Linked DNA regions of Homo sapiens: all the other regions are linked to region 2. Evidence: promoter capture Hi-C in 16 types of primary human blood cells and fetal thymus (Javierre and others, 2016). All regions are on one chromosome and are shown on one strand. Each heading gives the region's core, a stretch centred on a gene start or on the middle of the fragment in contact. The rest is flanking DNA. Distances are from core to core; before and after follow the strand shown.

Region 1 (2,845 bases), core at 67-2,566, 450 kb after region 2:
CTTGAACCTGGGAGGCGGAGGTTGCAGTGAGCTGAGATTGTGCCACTACACTCCAGCCTGGGCGACAGAGCGAGACTCCATCTCAAAAAAAAAAAAAAAAAAGACACCATTCCTTTTGCTGAAGTGGGCACAGGCCAGGCCCCTAGGAACTGAGCGCTTGCAGTGCTGCAGGAAGTGCTCTCCTGGCACTCCCTTGTCCTGCCAAGAAGTGGGGACTGCAGGGGACTTTGAGCAACCCAGTACATGAACCTCTTCATTTACAGAAGCATTTTGGAGGCTTTTTTCACTACACAAAAGGTTCTACTATAGAATTTTCCAATTGTATTTTGCATTTTAAAATATACTGTTCATTAACATAAAAATATACACAATGCCGGGCACAGTGGCTCACGCCTGTAATCCCAGCACTTTGGGAGGCCAAGGGAGGCGGATCACTTGAGGTCAGGAATTTAAGACCAGCCTGGCCAACATGGCGAAACCCTATCTTTACAAAAACTTAGCCGGGCCTGGTGGCACGCGCCTATAGTTCCAGCTACTCGGGAGGCTGAGGCAGGAGAATCTTTTGAACCTGGGAGGCAGAGGTTGCAGTGAGCCAAGGTCGCGTTACTGCACTCCAGCCTGGTTGACGGAGCAAGACACCGTCTCCAGAAAAAAAAAAAGTGTACACAATTACAAGTGAAATTCCCACTTGCTAGAGGTAACTGACTCACCACCTTTAGTGAGTTGTCTTGGTTTTGTTTTTTAAAAATACTCTGCAACAAAGCTTTACTTGTTTTTGTTGTCTGTTACAGAGTAAACCGTGGTGTAGATTCTTCTGCCAGAAATTCTCACACTTTTGGAGTTAGAGAACAGAAATGGTTCAGTAAGTGACAAAATGACAGCCAGAATAGATGGTCTAGGGCTTTGTCCCACATCCACCATGGCCTTAGCCTTTTTCTTTCAACCTTGTTTGGCTGGCTCCTTCCTCTATCCCTAAAGCTGTCCAGTCCTCCAGCCTGCAAAGCAAATTCTTTCAAGTCAGAGCAAATTCTTTCAAGTCTCTGCCTCCAGCAAGTATCCTGTCTTGCTCCTTCCCTTCACTGTGAAACGAATAGAAAGAGTGGCCAGCTCTATATCGTCTTTGCTCCACCACCCCTTCCTCTTCCTCCTGCTTCTGCTGCCCCCCACCACCCCAACACTGGGTGTCCCCAAGGACTAGCCACACACTCTAGACCCACTCCAAAGCATTCTTTCTTGCAACCATTCTGCAACCTGCCACCTTGCTAACCCTCCTGCCAGTTCTTCTGCCTCTGTAGTTGGCCTGTGAGACTTTGCAGGCAGCCCTCTCACCTACTTCCTTGGCATTACTGCTCTGAGGCTCAGCTCTCTGCCCTCCTTCCACGCATGCTTCCTTGGACATGCAGAAATTAAAGTGCTGAAAATGGAGGCCTGTTATATACCACAGTTCTAAGTCTCTAGAGGCCTCCTTCAGGCACCTGGGGAGACTGCGAGAGCATCAGGTGTCCCCATCTGGACGTGTCTATGTGGCCATGCTTCACCTGCACCCCCACGCAGTTCGATGGCATTAACCTGGGGACTAGTTCTGGGCCTGAAAACTGAGCTCAGCCTTGTCAGCCAGAGATGCCTCGGGGCTTCCCCTGAACTGAGAGGCCACGACGTCTGCTCTTCGCTTTTATCCTCTGTTGCAGGATGCAGTCAGCACCTAGTGCAGGGGTGAACGCCGATGCCAAGTTTGCCCTCCTATCCTTCAACCCCAAGTAGGAAGTTCACCTCTTATTTTCATATTGTAATTGAATTCCGACACCCCACCAACCCTTCCTGGGACTGGGGGAAGCCCCATCGTCAGTCTATTTATGACACTCCGTCGTAGGAAGCTTTGACCCTGGTTGGACAGGAATGAGCTAGAGCACCCAAAGCCACTGGGCATGGTTTCTGTGTGCTGCCCTAGGCAAGGGCAGAGGGGCTCTGCCTCTCCTTACCTGGGCCTACCAGAACACCCTTGCCAGTCACATGTCTTCCGGGTCACCCTGCTGCCCTCCAAGGCACCTCATGCCCTCAGAGGGCCCTGCTGATGCCTGAAAAGCCCAGATCAAGCTGAGAACAAGGGCCTGGCTGTCTGTTCAGGAACCCTCTGCCCTGTTCTGCCTCGGTACTCTGTCACCCCTCATTGCTGAGGACCCTAACCAATGCATGCACAGAGAGTCTTGGCTTCTGACAGCTCTGGATATGCTCTGTGGCGCCTTCATGTAGTAAGTCATTGAAGGCTAAGTCTCTGTGCAGGCTTCACTGGTGACTCACACATGTCCCCACCCCTACCATTCCATGAGATGACATGGGACTTCTGTCTCAGGCACTGTTTGCTCTCAAGAATATGCTGCCTGTTAGGGAAGATGATCAGGCAGATAAATATATTCATACCCTCATCCAAAAAGAACAGGACCTGAAAAAGCCTCTTAGAGGCAACCCATTGAAAATGGAGACCAGTGTTTCATACAGCACATAGTGAAAAAGGTTTGATCCGAATTTAATCTTGTAAAATGAAACTATTATTGAAATAAGTATCTTTTTTGAATCGACAAAATTATATATAATATACAGTATGTTTTGAAATATGTATACATTGTGTAATGGTTTAAATCGATCTAATTAACATATGCGTTACCTCACATACTTATTTTTTTGTGATGAGAGACACTTAAAATCTACCCTCTTAGAGATTTTCAAGAATACAATGCATTGTTATTAACTAAGTCACCTTGTGGTGCAATAGAGCTCTTTAACCTAATCCTATTTAACTGAAATTTATCCTTTAACCAGTATCTCCCACTGTTTTGTTTAAAAGTAT
Region 2 (2,784 bases), core at 29-2,528:
ACAAAGTCTGAGTTAGATCTGTTAGTGCCAGGCAAACTCTAGGCTTTTCCCACGGTGTCAGCTTTATCCCTAATTATTGGGCAGTCTAGGTGGGGCGCTTATGCCACTCCTCTTTCCCAGCTGTCCAAAAGCCCCACTGCTCTGTGCTGTAACATCTCATGGCAGGCACTATCAGAACTTTGCAGCTTCATTCCTGGGCTGCAGGGCAGGAGGGATGGTTGCTTCCTTTTCACAGGTTGGGGGAGGGGGAACAGGTGGCCTCACTTCTTTGGTAAATATTCCTTGACCATACACAGTCCTGAGCCCTCTGAGGGTGGGAGGCTGGGGAAACAGAGAAAAATGAGATCATGGTCTAGTGAGAGAGACAGACAAGCACCAAGTCATAACTGTGCAGGGTCATATATGCAGAGATGGGGGAAGTACAGGGCTGTGGGGACCAAGGAGTGAGGGGCTGCCCAGGGCCAGTCAGGGAGGCCAAGCCCTAGCTCAGCCCAGAGCAGGGCCCAAACAAAAGCCCAGGCTGAGAGCACATGGCCCAGCCAGACTCCCACTCCCAGGAGGCCACCAGTTGGGTGCAAAGTGCATGGCGCATTGGCAGGCCTGGGTCCCAGACCTGGTGCTGCCACGGCACAGCAGGGAGGGTGACCTTGGACAACTCCCATTCCCTCTCAGGTCCGTTTCCCCACCTGTACAGTTCGAGGTGGAGGAACAAAGGGTCTGTGCAGCCATGGCCCCTGGGGATCCCCCACTGCTCCCCTGCCATCATCTCTTTCCCACAGAACTTCCCGACGGAGGAGCTGACTACCAGAAGCCCCCAGTGGGTGTTAAATCACAAGCTACGCCTGGGAATGGGCCACTCCTCCTGTCTTCTGCCCTCTCCCACTCTCCAGGGCCCAGTACCTGCCCTTCTCACCATCTTTCATCAGGTCCCCATCACAGCCCGGTCCCAACCAGGACAAAGACCCTACCCATCCCTTTCTCACCTCCCCCATTCTTTGCCCAGACCCCTCCCTAGGCCTTGATCCTGCCCCGCCTCTAACCCCCAGATTCCAAGCGAGGAGTCTCAGCCCCTCCCCCACGACCCAGTCCCTGGCCCCCGCGCCTGCACCCCACCCCGCGCGCGTCTATCCCTGCCTGGCCGGGCTCTCACCGCGCCGCAGCTGCAGACGCAACGTCCCCAGCGCGAGGCCCCGGGCCCCCCAGCAGCCGCCGCGCCGTCACAGAGATGCTGCACAGCCGCGGAGCCATGTTGGAGCCGCAAAGGTTGCAGGAAGGCCCCGCCCCCAAGCCCTGGTGGCGGAGGCGGGGCGCGAATAAACTCCACCCCTCCGGCTCGCCCGCCCCCTCACTCACCCGGTCAGGTGGGCGTTTCCTGTGGGCGTCTCCAACTCCGCAGGTGCTGGACGGAAGTCAGGGTTCTAATCCTCTGCGCGCTCTGCGACCTTGGCAAGCCCTTTGCCCACTCTGGGCCTCAGGATCCACCTCGGTAAAATGGGAGCGTGGAACAATAATACCAAGGGTTCTTTTTTTTTTTTTTTTTTTTTTTGAGACGGAGTCTCGCTCTGTCGCCCAGGCTGGAGCGCAGTGGCGCGATCTCGGCCCACTGCAAGCTCCGCCTCCTGGGTTCACGCCATTCTCCTGCCTCAGCCTCCCGAGTAGCTGGAACTACAGGCGTCTGCCACCACGCCCAGCTAATTTTTTGTATTTTTAGTAGAAACGGGGTTTCACCGTGTTAGCCAGGATGGTCTCGATCTCCTGACCTCGTGATCTGCCTGCCTCGTGCTCCCAAAGTGCTGGGATTACAGGCGTGAGCCACCATGCCCAGCCTACCAAGGGTTCTTAACAAGGCTGTCCGGGATGTGCAGCAGAGGGTCAGTGTAACCACCCCATGGGTTCATTTTGCCCGTTTCCCAGACAGCGGATTTATCAAGACAGAGGAATTGCAATAAGAGTTTAATTCATGCAGAGCCGGCTGAATGGGAGACCGGAGTTTTATTATTACTCAAATCAGTCTCCCTGAAAATTCGGAGACTGGGTTTTATTAAGGATAATTTGGTGGGTAGGGGCCAGAGAGTGGAGAGTGCTGATTGGTCAGGTCGGAGATGCAATCATAGGGAGTGGAAGCCGTCCTCTTGTGCTGAGTGGATCTCTGGGTGGGGGCCACAAAACCGGATGATCCGGTTTCTTAATCTGTGTATCGCCAGCGGATCCATTGAGTGCAGGATCGGAAAAATATCTTGAGCACCAATCTTAGGTTTTACAGTAGTGATGTTATCCCTAGGAGCAACTGGGGAGGTTTAGAATCTGTGGCCACTACCTGCATGACTCCTAAACCGTAATTTCTAATCTCGTGGCTAATTTGTTAGTCTTACAAAAGCAGTCTGGTCCCCAGGCAAGAAAGGGGTTTATTTTGGGAGAGGGCTGTTATCTTTGTTTCAAAGTTGAACTATAAATTTGCTGCCGGGCATGGTGGCTCATGCCTGTAATCCCAGCATTTTGGGAGGCAAAGGTGGATCAGAAGTTTAGGTCAAGAGTTCAAGACCAGCCTGGCCAACAGGGTGAAACCCCGTCTCTACTAAAAATACAAAAAAATTAGCCAGGCATGGTGGCGGGCACCTGTAATCCCAGTTACTCGGGAGGCTGAGGCAGGAGAATCTCTTGAACCCTGGAGGCAGAGGTTGCAGTGAGCCGAGATCGCGCCACTGCACTCCAGCCTGGGCAACAAGAGCGAAACTCCGTCTCAAAAAACAAACAAAAAGACTGTAAGTTTGGCCTATGCCCAGG
Region 3 (2,700 bases), core at 76-2,575, 440 kb after region 2:
ATGTGTCCTGTCCATCTCAGTCTGCCTTGTTCTCCATAGCACTGGTCACTCTTCAGCTATGACTAGAGCAAGCTCCATCAGGGCAGAAGAATTTGCTGGTCATTGCTACATGCCCAGCACCTTAGTCATGTTTGGGCCATGTGAAATGCTCAATAATTTGTAGAATGAACAAGTAGTTTTACAAACATACTGTCAGCTCAGACTTGAGTTGTACACTGACGTGCTCCTGCACCCAGTTCATATGCTGTGGCGCTTGTGAGAGTGGCTGTTAATTCACAATCTCAGACTATTTATCACGGAAGCTAAGAGGAATAGGGGCACCAACAACCTGTCTGACTCAGGTTGTTGGGTCCTGGAATTGGTGGTGTGAGGAGGAGGAGGCTACTGCATGGCTTACTGGGTTCCCCGTCCTGACAGAGTAAATTGAAGTGTTCTCAGGGATGTTAGGATAAGGTGGCTCAGCTGAGCTGACTTATCAGAGTGTGCATGCCTGATTGCTTAATTTGTGCTTCATTGGACTTCCATAGGTGAAACTGGTGCAGCATACCTATTCCTGCCTGTTTGGAACATTCCTGTGCAACAACGCCAAGGAGAGAGGGGAAAAGCATACTCAGGAACGGACATGTTCCGTGTGGTCACTTCTTCGGGCAGGCAACAAGGCTTTCAAAAACCTACTGTATTCCTCTCAGTCAGAAGCCGTATGTATCCTTCAGCCTTTCCACTGTGGTCAGCAGAAGGAATTTGGGGTTGGTTACATATGAGAGCCTTTTTGAGTAGTGACTGTTTTTGTGAAGACATCTCTACTGTCTCTGGATGGACTGGTTCCATTTTTCCCCCATGATTCTGTCCTGAGGAAGGCCTGCTTCTGATGGTGCTCTGATCTGTTTCTGATGACTACTTGCTGAGGGTGGTTTGGTTTAACACAGATCTCTACTTTGCCACCCTAGACATGAATCTTTTTTGGCACTGCCTCCAGAGCTTATTTCTAGCATATTCTGTCTTACGGGAGAGGCACTTAAGTTGCTTCCTGATGCACTGATAGCTCAGAATGAGCTGCCACCAGGCCCCCAGCACCCTCCCAGTGTCAATAAGCAATGATACCCACCAAAGCTTCTGTCTCAGAACAGTAAACTGTGTTTGACATTGGTATGTGTGTCTGTCTGATTCTCTGCTCACATGAAGAGCTGGCAGGCCCTTTAAGACTTTGTTCCCCGAAGGAATGAATACCTTCTGTTAAGCAGAGAAAAGGAGGCACATAGACCTATGTGTCAGTTTCATAGTAATACTAGCTTTGTCAGAATGCATCTTAGACCCTAAAGAAGTCAAAAGGAGGCTAATCAGAGTTCATACTGATTTCCTGGACTATTAATATGGTTCTCATTACATTTAAGTAATCACAGAAAAGATTTAAGCTGACTGCTTGTCTCTCCCCTTCAGTGTGCCTTCTGGGGAAGTAACAATACAGCAGGAAAATTTCCTTCTTTTCACATGATTAATTTAAATGATCCCATAAAATGGGTTTGACAGTGTTTCTTGAAGCCAAGCTTTTGTGCCAGCAGGATGGACAATCACCATCTAACAGAATGACTCACTTTCTTAGGCAGTAAAAGCAACAAATCAAGCTGATGAAAGTCAGACATTGAAGGTGACCTAAGAAATAACTATAATGAGAAAGGGATCTAAAAAATATTTTATATTTTCATGCTCTCAAGTGGCTCTTAGGTGAAAAATGTTGGCTATATAAAATGTCTAGTCCTGTATTGGTCCTCTTGGGATAGACCTGTATCCATTGGTGCTGCTTCTTTGTGGAGATCCTGTCAGCCCTGTTGGGTATTCCAGCTGGGTGCTTGCTCTTGATCCTCATTTCCAGACATCCTAGAAGACTTATTGGGGCATATTTAAACCTGTGTCCTCCCCCCTCCTCAGGTGCTGTACCCTGTGTGCCATGTGCGTAACCTGATGCTGTGGAGTGCAGTGTACCTGCCCTGCCCATCCCCAACCACCCCTGTGGACGACAGCTGTGCACCATACCCAGCCCCAGGCACCAGCCCTGATGATCCCCCCCTGAGCCGGTGAGCCCAGGGTGATGCCACAGGCCTGACAGCCTGTGTGGGTGTATTCCTGTGTTGGGACGTGTGCAGGGATGGTCAGAGATCATGATGGTATCTGGCTCCACAGTATCTTTCTTAGGTCTCTGCAGTTTTTTCAGGGAAGTTATAGGGATTTCTGAGCTACGAGGCTGTAAGATCCTTGTTTCTGGGAGTGAGTTAGGCCCTGTTGCTTCATGTTGTTTTGCATACACTGAGCCGCTCCTCAGTGATAGAGCAAATCCTCCAGTTTTTCTGTGACCCCCTGGTTTGTGTTTTCCCCAGTGCTCTGTGCTCCTGCCTATTTGCCATGATTTGTCTTCTGAGGCTTAAAAGGCAGATGCTGTCAGATGACAGAAAATTTTGCTTTGGGGCCAGGCTTGGTGGCTCATGCCTGTAATCCCAGCACTTTGGGAGGCCAAGGTGGGAGGATCGCTTGAGCCCAGGAGTTCCAGACCAGCCTGGGCAATGTGTTGAAACTCTGTTTCTACCCAAAATGCAAAAACTAACCAAGCGTGGTGGCACATACCTGTAGTCCCAGCTACTTGGGAGGTTGAGGCAGGAGGATCACTTGAGCCTGGAAGGTGGAGGTTGCAGTGATCCAAGATCCATT
Region 4 (2,920 bases), core at 302-2,801, 410 kb after region 2:
TTTATCAGAGACGGGAGTTTTGCCATGTTGGCCAGGCTGGTCTTGAACTCCTGACCTCCAGTGATCTGCCCGTCTTGGCCTCCCAAAGTGCTGGGATTACAGGCATGAGCCACTGCACTCAGCCTAAACATATCTTTAATAAATTAGTTTTCACTAATTATTTTAACTTCTTAGTTGTATATACTGAAAATCGCAGTTGACAATAGAATTGTTTTGTTCTCTACATGGTCATAGCTGAAAGTTTCAGTGCAATCTGTCTTTTGGATCTGATTTGTCCTAATAGCTAAATATTGAAATTACTACCTAACTGGCTAAAAATAATGCTGTTTTTTTTTAAACTTGATCTAATATGTTACTACAAAACAAAGATTTTTCTAAACATATTTTTTATGAGGGACAACCATAAAACTTCGATGGAAGAAGTAGAATGAAACTCCACTCATGAAAGAGAATAGCTGCCATTTTTCTGTAATAATTGTCATTAATCTTAGAAGAGATTTCATTAGTCTAAAAAAATAGGTTTTCCAATGGTCAGCTTCCTCCTTTTGGACATTTTGTTCCATTGGCTAACATTTGTTTTTCTTATAAGTGATAATGAGCATGCGAATGACTGACTGCCTCAGATGCTTTCTTGGTTGTAGTTCCCACTTCACTACGAGTGGGCATTCTTGAAATAATGGCTTTTCTTACATTTCATTTCAACTGTCTTCTGATTACATCCATACTTGTTTGGCTTTACAAAAGGTGTCAGTTTTCAACCTTTGAGCAGTGTCAAGAGTGGCTGAAGAGACTGAACAACGCAATCCGACCACCTGCTAAAATAGAAGATCTCTTCTCATTTGCATACCATGCTTGGTGCATGGAGGTCTATGCCAGTGAAAAAGAGCAACATGGAGACCTGTGCAGACCAGGTACGCCTTTCTGAAATGTGCAAATGGCCAGGGGCTTTATCAAGCTACTGATGGAGGTACTTTTAACATGAAATGGGACACCTAAGCATTCATATATCAATCAGTGTATATTTTAAGGAGCACCCAGCAAGTGCGCAGCATTCTTTTAAGCTTAATAGAACATCTTTTCTGCCTTCCGGGGAAGGGAAGAACACTAGAAGGCATCACAATCTATTGGGCCTAAAAACAGCTCAACTATAATAAGGTTTTATGAATAGTATGGAAGCCTGATAGAAAGGAGCCATGAGTTTTGTATACATGTGTGGGAAGACTTCACATTTAAAGTGGCTTTTGAATCAGCTTTGAAAGTTGAATAGGAGTTAATTGGTGAGAGGCCAGGTTCCTATCAAGAACAAATAGATAGTGGGGTTTGTTTTTTGTTTTTTTTGAGACGGAGTTTCGCTCTTGTTGCCCAGGCTGGAGTGCAATGGCTCAATCTCGGACCACTGCAACCTCCGCCTCTTGGGTTCAAGCAATTCCCCTGCCTCAGCCTCCTGTGTAGCTGGGATTACAGGCATGCGCCACCATGCCCGGCTAATTTTTTATTTTTAGTAGAGACGGGGTTTCTCCATGTTGGTCAGGCTGGTCTCAGGTGATACGCCCGCCTTGGCCACCCGGAGTGCTTGGATTTATAGGCGTGAGCCACAGCTCCTGGCCTAGATTATAGGTTTTAACATGTGACCCCCTCCCCCCCAAAAAAACCAAAAAGAGATGCTGAGCCTGTTCTGGAACCCAGGCTTCCTGACTCCTCTATAGTCTTTGTCCCCCTCACTGTCATTCTCCGTCAGAAATGGCTTTGACCATGTTATTTCTCTGCATGTAGTTTCTTGTAAACTTTATGTGGTCATAAAACTTTGCTGGTCCAACACTGACTTTTAGTGTGTCAGGTTTCAAAGTGAAGTCTTAAATTTCTGTGCAGTGAAAAGTTGTAAGCCTCCTTCAAGTAAAGTTTACTCTTGGGACTTTTTTCTAGAAACCTGAAATTTTAATCCTGAATCTTCAATCTTATAAGTCTGCCCTGGGTCATTTTAAACATTTGAGGCTAATCTTGCTATGCTTTTGTTACTTTGTTCTCTGGCCCCATGACTAATTGAAGCTTTTGGTTCACATTCTTGTTCTATTAAAATGCTTGTAGCATTAGCATTATCTTATGTTTAACAATGCTTTGATAAATACTTTTGTTTGATCCTCATGACCTTGTCAAACAGGCAAGATAGGTTGGTGTCTGTTTTGGGAGCCAAAGAAATGGAGGCTCAGAGGTAAAAAGCCTGTTGTCAAGTCCCAGTGCTAGTCACTGACGACAGAACTAGGACTTAAAACCAGTTCTCAGTTATTCAGACCTGACCATGGTGGATGCTGTGGATACAGAGTTTGAAAAACAAAAGCACCTGCCCTCTTGGAGCCTCAGGGAAAGCCTCAGAATCCCAGCTTCTCACAGGCGTGTCCAGGCTAGCAGAATCCTGTCACCTACGAGAGACCACACCAACCTTGGAAGTTTATGAGAATGTGCTTAAACTGTCTCTCACTTCACTCCGATTGTTACATCTATTTTTTTTCTTTATTGAAATGCCATCACATTTTAAATACATTTTTTCATTTTTTATGGCTCTTTTCAAATTTGGGGGTTTTTCTTAAAGAGAAAGTTTACAAACAGTGATGTGTACAAATCTTACATGTACAGTTTCTGAGTTTTTAACCATTGCATCTTCTTTATTAAATTTTTAGTTTCTACCATCTCCTAGGATAATGAACTTAATGAGTGCATCCTACTGCATTATGTTATATAAGAACTTTAATTTGTTTAAGACCCCTGACTCCAAGACCCCTGACTCCAAGAGGTATTCCCTAATTTTGGGTTGCCAGCATTTACTCAGCAAGATTTGCTTTCTCCTATCCTGTTCTCTCACAACCACAGACTGAAAAGTCCTTATCTTTTTAGGAGAGCTTTTTTAGTCCCTTGATAATTTGAG

What was found. The method cuts DNA at HindIII sites, captures the fragments that hold promoters and counts their contacts. A CHiCAGO score of 5 or more calls a contact.
Region 1: a fragment that was not itself captured here is called in contact with the fragment with the promoter of NIPSNAP1 in region 2 in 1 of 17 cell types (M0 macrophages); the score reaches 5.3 in M0 macrophages.
Region 3: a contact is called between a fragment that was not itself captured here and the fragment with the promoter of NIPSNAP1 in region 2, in 3 of 17 cell types (neutrophils, total CD4 T cells and endothelial precursors). The highest score is 5.5, in neutrophils.
Region 4: a contact is called between a fragment that was not itself captured here and the fragment with the promoter of NIPSNAP1 in region 2, in 3 of 17 cell types (non-activated CD4 T cells, total B cells and total CD4 T cells). The highest score is 6.2, in non-activated CD4 T cells.

Annotation. Positions count from the first base shown.
Region 1 is chr22:30,034,552-30,037,396 of GRCh38, forward strand. The region is part of intron 3 of HORMAD2-AS1 (HORMAD2 and MTMR3 antisense RNA 1); the gene reads right to left. Among named protein-coding and RNA genes, the nearest start is that of MIR6818, 29 kb to the left of the region's middle. The HindIII fragment of the contact is 1,111 bases long and covers 762-1,872 here.
Region 2 is chr22:29,579,835-29,582,618 of GRCh38, forward strand. It overlaps NIPSNAP1 (nipsnap homolog 1), which reads right to left and starts at 1,279. Exons shown (of 10, transcript NM_003634.4): 1 at 1,151-1,279. The coding sequence starts at 1,248. RefSeq lists an enhancer at 440-1,052 and a silencer at 1,036-1,085. The HindIII fragment of the contact is 18,053 bases long and covers 1-2,784 here.
Region 3 is chr22:30,016,001-30,018,700 of GRCh38, forward strand. MTMR3 (myotubularin related protein 3) reads left to right here. Exons shown (of 20, transcript NM_021090.4): 15 at 528-698; 16 at 1,927-2,072. HORMAD2-AS1 (HORMAD2 and MTMR3 antisense RNA 1) reads right to left here. Exons shown (of 5, transcript NR_110541.2): 4 at 2,617-2,700. Among named protein-coding and RNA genes, the nearest start is that of MIR6818, 10 kb to the left of the region's middle. The HindIII fragment of the contact is 434 bases long and covers 1,109-1,542 here.
Region 4 is chr22:29,990,760-29,993,679 of GRCh38, forward strand. It overlaps MTMR3 (myotubularin related protein 3), which reads left to right. Exons shown (of 20, transcript NM_021090.4): 7 at 745-911. Among named protein-coding and RNA genes, the nearest start is that of MIR6818, 15 kb to the right of the region's middle. The HindIII fragment of the contact is 985 bases long and covers 1,060-2,044 here.